Linked DNA regions of Homo sapiens: region 1 is linked to region 2. Evidence: promoter capture Hi-C in human tissues and cell types (Jung and others, 2019). All regions are on one chromosome and are shown on one strand. The core of a region is centred on a gene start or on the middle of the fragment in contact, and the rest is flanking DNA. Distances in the headings are between cores, read along the strand shown.

The links. The method cuts DNA at HindIII sites, captures the fragments that hold promoters and counts their contacts. A contact is called where the count stands out against the background at its distance.
Region 1: a fragment that was not itself captured here is called in contact with the fragment with the promoter of PDCD6 in region 2 in 1 of the 25 tissues and cell types used here (heart right ventricle).

The regions. Positions count from the first base shown.
Region 1 is chr5:1,646,088-1,649,299 of GRCh38, reverse strand. No RefSeq gene overlaps it. Among named protein-coding and RNA genes, the nearest start is that of MIR4277, 61 kb to the left of the region's middle. The HindIII fragment of the contact is 6,612 bases long and covers 1-3,212 here.
Region 2 is chr5:270,396-273,213 of GRCh38, reverse strand. It overlaps PDCD6 (programmed cell death 6), which reads right to left and starts at 1,568. Exons shown (of 6, transcript NM_013232.4): 1 at 1,393-1,568; 2 at 442-503. The coding sequence starts at 1,493. It overlaps PDCD6-DT (PDCD6 divergent transcript), which reads left to right and starts at 1,690. Exons shown (of 2, transcript NR_104613.1): 1 at 1,690-1,869. PDCD6-AHRR (PDCD6-AHRR readthrough (NMD candidate)) reads right to left here and starts at 1,568. Exons shown (of 13, transcript NR_165163.2): 1 at 1,393-1,568; 2 at 442-503. RefSeq lists a silencer at 1,276-1,485 and enhancers at 1,776-1,865, 2,527-2,818. The HindIII fragment of the contact is 6,729 bases long and covers 1-2,818 here.

The DNA.
Region 1 (3,212 bases), core at 225-2,724, 1.4 Mb before region 2:
TCCATATCTTTGCCATTGTGAACAGTGCTGCAGTAAACAGGGGGGCCCAGATTCCCTTTCACACAGGATTCCCTTTCCTTTGGATAAATACCCATCAGCGGGGATGGCTGGATCATAGGGTAGCTCTATTTTTAATTTTTTAAGAACTCAATCCTGTTGTCCATAGCGGCTGTACTCATTTACATTCCCACCTACAGTGTGTATGGTTCCCCTTTCTCCACATCCTCGCCAGCATTTGTTATGGTTTTTGTTTTTAATTAAAGCCATCTGAACTGGGGTAGATGATACCTCATTGTGGTTTTGATGTGCATTTCCCCAATGATTCATGATGTTGAGCATTTTTTCGCTTGCTTTTTGGGGCCAATATCCAGAATACACAAGGAAATCAAACAACAGAAAAAAATAGATAAATAAATAATCCCATAGAAAGTAGACAAAAGATCATTTCTCAACAGAAGACATATAAGTGGCCAAAAGGTTTATGGAAAATTCTAAGCTTTTAATCTTTGTGTTCCTTTCTTGTTTCAAGCAGTGTTTCTCTTTTTCTTTCCTTTTTTTTTGAGATGGAGTCTCACTCTGTTGCCCAGGCTGGAGTGCAGTGGTGTAATCCTGGCTCACTGCAACCTTTGCCTCCTGGGTTCAAGCGATACTCCTGCCTCAGCCTCCCAAGTAGCTGGGATTACAGGCATGCACCACAACGCCCAGCTAATTTTTGTATTTTTAGTAGAGACAGGGTTCCACCATGTTGACCAGCCTGGTCTTGAACTCCTGACCTCAGGTAGTCCTCCCACCTTGGCCTCCCAAAGTGCTGGGATTACAGGCATGAGCCACTGCACCCAGCCCAAGCAGTGTTTTTCAAAGCCACGTCTCAGGACCACCTCAAGAATGCAGACATGAGGGTGGGATCAGCAGTTCTGGGGGGGGTGGGGGAGCTGAGCGCCCCACCAAAGAAACGCTCACCTGTTTTGCAGAGCAAAGGATTCCACAGGGGGAAAAACAAAAAGCAAAAACAAGAACTTCCTGATCACCTTTTATTTTTGAGACAGTCTCAGTCTGTCACCCAGGCTGGAGTGCAGTGGTGCAATCCCAGTTCACTGCAACCTCTGCCTGCTGGGTTCAAGTGATTCTCATGCCTCAGCCTCCCAAGTAGCTGGGATTACAGGTGCAGGCCACCACGCCCAGCTAATTTTTTTTTTTTTTTTTTTTTTGTATTTTTGGTAGAGACAGGGTTCGCCATGTCGGCCAGGCTGGTCTCAAACTCCTGATCTCAAGTGATCTGCTCGCCTCGGATTCCCACAGTGCTGAGATTACAGGCATGAGCCACCACGCCCGGTGGCTGATCACCCAAGTTCTATCTGCTCCTCCTGGAGCCTGCCAGAGCCTTCCCACCTGGAAGCATCCGAGGGACTGAGGCTGGGATTTGGGGGAAAGGAGGCTGTCTGAGGAGGCCACAGCTGGTGAGCTGCCGGGATAGACCCACAGGGCCTGGGGTAACAGGCAGGGGTTTGGACACTGTCTTTCGAGTGACAGGGAGATGCTGGTGGGCACCAAGCAGGGTGGTGGTGCCATTACCTTGGAAAGTGGAAGGCTGCTTCTGCCTCAGAGAGCCATGGGCTGGAGAGAGGCGCCCGTGGGCTAGAAACCTCACACGATTAAAACGCCTATGACAGAAGGTTGGAGGGTGGCTTTTGCTTGTAAACATGATTTTTATTATCATTATTATTACTATACTTTAAGTTCTAGGGTACATGTGCACAACGTGCAGGTTTGTTACATAGGTATACATGTGCCATGTTGGTGTGCTGCACCCATTAACTCGTCATTTACATTAGGTATATCTCCTAATGCTATCCCTCCCCTCTCCCCCCACCCCACAACAGGCCCTGGTGTGTGATGCTCCCCTTCCTGTGTCCAAGTGTTCTCATTGTTCAATTCCCACCTGTGAGTGAGAACATGCAGTGTTTGGGTTTTTGTCCTTGCGATAGTTTGCTGAGAATGATGGTTTCCAGCTTCATCCATGTCCCTACAAAGGACATAAACTCATCATTTTTTATGGCTGCATAGTATTCCATGGTGTATATGTGCCACATTTTCTTAATCCAGTCTATCATTGATGGACATTTGGATTGGTTCCAAGTCTTTGCTATTGTGAGTAGTGCTGCAATACACATACGTGTGCATGTGTCTTTATAGCAGCATGATTTATAGTCCTTTGGGTATATACCCAGTCATGGGATGGTGGGGTCAAATGGTATTTCCAGTTCTAGATCCCTGAGGAATCGCCACACTGACTTCCACAATGGTTGAACTAGTTTACAGTCCCACCAACAGTGTCAAAGTGTTCCTATTTCTCCACATCCTCTCCAGCACCTGTTGTTTCCTGACTTTTTAATGATCGCCATTCTAACTGGTGTGAGATGGTATCTCATTGTGGTTTTGATTTGCATTTCTCTGATGGCCAGTGATGAAGAGCATTTTTTCACGTGTCTGTTGGCTGCATAAATGTCTTCTTTTGAGAAATGTCTGTTCATATCCTTTGCCCACTTTTTGATGGGGTTGTTTTTGTCTTGTAAATTTGTTTGAGTCCTTTGTAGATTCTGGATATTAGTCCTTTGTCAGATGAGATTGCAAAAATTTTCTCCCATTCTGTAGGTTGCCTGTTCACTCTGATGGTAGTTTCTTTTGCTGTGCAGAAGCTCTTTAGTTTAATTAGATCCCATTTGTCAATTTTGGCTTTTGCTGCCATTGCTTTTGGTGTTTTAGACATGAAGTCCTTACCCATGCCTATGTCCTGAATGGTATTGCCTAGGTTTTCTTCTAGGGTTTTTATGGTTTTAGGTCTAACATTTAAGTCTTTAATCCATCTTGAATTAATTTTTGTATAAGGTGTAAGAAGGGATCCAGTTTCAGCTTTCTACATATGGCTAGCCAGTTTTCCCAGCACCATTTGTTAAATAGGGAATCCTTTCCCCATTGCTTGTTTTTGTCAGGTTTGTCAAAGATCAGATGGTTGTAGATGTGTGGTATTATTTCTGAGGCCTCTATTCTGTTCCATTGGTCTATATTTCTGTTTTGGTACCAGTACCATGCTGTTTTGGTTACTGTAGCCTTGTAGTATAGTTTGAAGTCAGGTAGTGTGATGCCTCCAGCTTTGTTCTTTTGGCTTAGGATTGTCTTGGCAATGTGCGCTCTTTTTAGGTTGCATATGAACT
Region 2 (2,818 bases), core at 319-2,818:
ACATTCCCATACAAGGGCTGCCTGAGCTCCCCAAGCCCTCCAACAATCACCCCCCAGTGCCCTCGAAGGTCTATTCAGAGAAGTCACCAAGATGCAGTCACCCAGGAAATTCAAGGACCTCCAACTTACCAAAAGGCTTTCGGCTGTACAGAGCTAAGCTTCCTATTCCCCTCCTAAACCTACAATCTAGTTTTCATTTCTCAAGAAGCCTTTCCCTGTGCTCACGCACGCAGTTGTTAGCTGGCTCGGTGAGGCACTCCAAGCAGTAACAGCGGTAGCCACAAAATAAACCAGAAGCATCTCCACTACGAAGCAGTAATAACAATTTGTCCTAATGATTCCTTTGTCCTTGGAAAAACAACTTCAGAAAGTTATCCACTGTGAACAGGGCAGGCTCGCGGCTTCTTGGTCCGGAGACCCAGTTCCCACTGGCCCACTCACCGTTGGAGAGAGCTTGCTGAAGCTCGGTGTCTGATATCACTCCACTCCTGTCTTTATCGACCCTATAACATCAAGAAGACCAAATAAGCTGGCGATCGAAAGTTCAGGAAAAGCAAAACAAACGTCTTCTGTCAACCCTGCACCGACTCTGGAAGGCTCCCTCCTGGAACCTCCGCCTCTCCCGTCCCGCTGAGGAGTACAGCGGAATCAAGGAAGTGCCCCAGGAGCCGACGTCCAGTGTGGTCTTCCCCTAAGAGGACAATCATCTTCACCTCAATCCTTCCCTTCCTTCCTCTCCTGGCCTGTCTGAATTCCCATTTGCACCCGTTTCCCTTTTTCACAGACAAGACAAGATTCCCTCAGATAACTAAGCCATTCCCTGGCCATCAGTCACTACAGTTTCGGACATTCGGTGGAAAAGCGACCAGGGACAGAAGGCGCCGCCATAAAGGTCACCTGGCCCGAGCAGACGCCAGGTCGCTGCTTCTTCCTTGGCTGCTGACATTTTAACAGCGCCCAGGCAGTCTGTTTCCGCTTTCCCCAAACAAGCACCCTGGAGACCCTCCACCTGGCGGCTCTTGAGGCGAGAAAAAGGGCCTAGCCCAGGAGCCGGTGGCCGCGACCTCGGGTCTGCAGTGGCGCACTCTGCATCTTGGGAAGGGCCCGACGCACAGGACAGGGACCGGGCAGGAGGCAGGGGCGGCCCCAGGAGACCGGGCAGCGGACGGGGGAGACCGCGGGGGACCCGCCAGGGGACGGGGGCGGCCGCGTCGGCTGGGGCAGGGGTCGGGGGCGGCGGCAGGGGACGGGAGGGGGCCGCGGGGGACCCGACAGGGGACGGAGGAGGCCGCAGTAGAACCGGCAGGGAACGGGGTTGGTCGGGGGAGTCGGGACAGGGGTCGGGGCCGCCGCGGCGGAGGCGGGAGGTGCCCGGGCGGTGCCAGGCCGCACCTCTGGAAAACGTTCCACAGGAAGCTCTGGTCCGGCAGCGCCGCGCCTGCAGCAGGCCCAGGGCCGGCCCCAGGGCCGGGGCGGTAAGAGTAGGCGGCCATGGGCCAAGGCACGCGGCTGGGCTGAGGCGCCTGCAGCGACGAGAGACCTCTCAGGCCGACTCCGCTTCCGCCTCTGCCGGGGGCAGGGCCTGGCATTATCACCACTTCCGGGGGCGCAGGAAATGCGTGGTCTCCGGGATGGTCACGGGGTCCCGCGCAGCCAATCCCCTCGCAGCTAAGTTGCCAGGCAACGCCCTGGCGCCTGCGGGGAGGGCGGGGTCTGGGCGCCTGGAGGAAGCCAGAGCTTTGGCGCAGGCCGCCTGCGCGCTGTGCCAGGAAAGCGCTTGGAGAAAATGTCCGGCCCCGCGACCTGGGACAGGAAGTGATGGAGCACGGACTTAGTTTGCCTTTCAGTTCTTGTATAAATAGTTTTGAGGTGAATGTGATTTGCTAACAGTCGGAAACTCTGGGCGGGGCGCGGTAGCTCACACCTGTGATCCCTGCCCTTTGGGAGGCGGAGGCGGGCGGAGCTCTTGAGCCCAGCAGTTCGGACCAGCCTGGGCAGCATGGATAGACCCCATCCCTACAAAAATTACAAAAAGTAGTCGGGCGTGGTGGGCTCCTGTGGTCCCATCTACTCCGTGGGCTGAGGCGGGAGGATTGCCTGAGCCCGGGAGGTCAAGGCCGCAGGGAGCCGAGCTCACTGCACTACAGGGGTGGACAGCGAGACTCTGCCAAAAAAAAAAAAAAAAAAAAGAAAGCAAAAGCAGGCCGGGCGCGGTGGCTCACGCCTGTAATCCCAGCACTTTGGGAGGCCAAGGCCAGTGGATTACCTGAAGTCGGGAGTTCGAGACCAGCCTTGGCCAATTGGGAGACACCCCGTATCTACTAAAAATACAAAACTAACCGGGCGTGATGGTGCACACCTGTAATCCCAGCTACTCGGGAGGCTGAGGCAGGAGAATTGCTTGAAACCGGGAGGAGGAGGTTGCAGTGATCCGAGATCGGGCCATTGCACTCCAGGCCTGGGCAACAAGTGCAAAACTCTGTCTCAAAAAAAAAAAAAAAAAAAAGTCAAAACACAATTCGGGTGGGAAAGGCAGTGTGCAGCATTCTCGGTTGTCTGTTCCGCCCCCAAAAGCTTCCCTCCTTTAGGTTTAACCTGCGCCCCCGTGCTCTGCATCAGCGCGGCCCCTGACCCCGTGCAGCTGGAAACACTGCTGGGCCCCTTCACACCCCTGCCTGCTGGGCCCCTTCACACCCCGGTGGTGGTGCAGCCCTGCCTCCCGCAAGACAGCACTGCCTTCGTGCTGGACACAGTTCTAAGGTGGAGCCTGGAGTGCCTGTAGCACAAATCCCGGAATTGGGAAGTGCCCAGCTTTGGG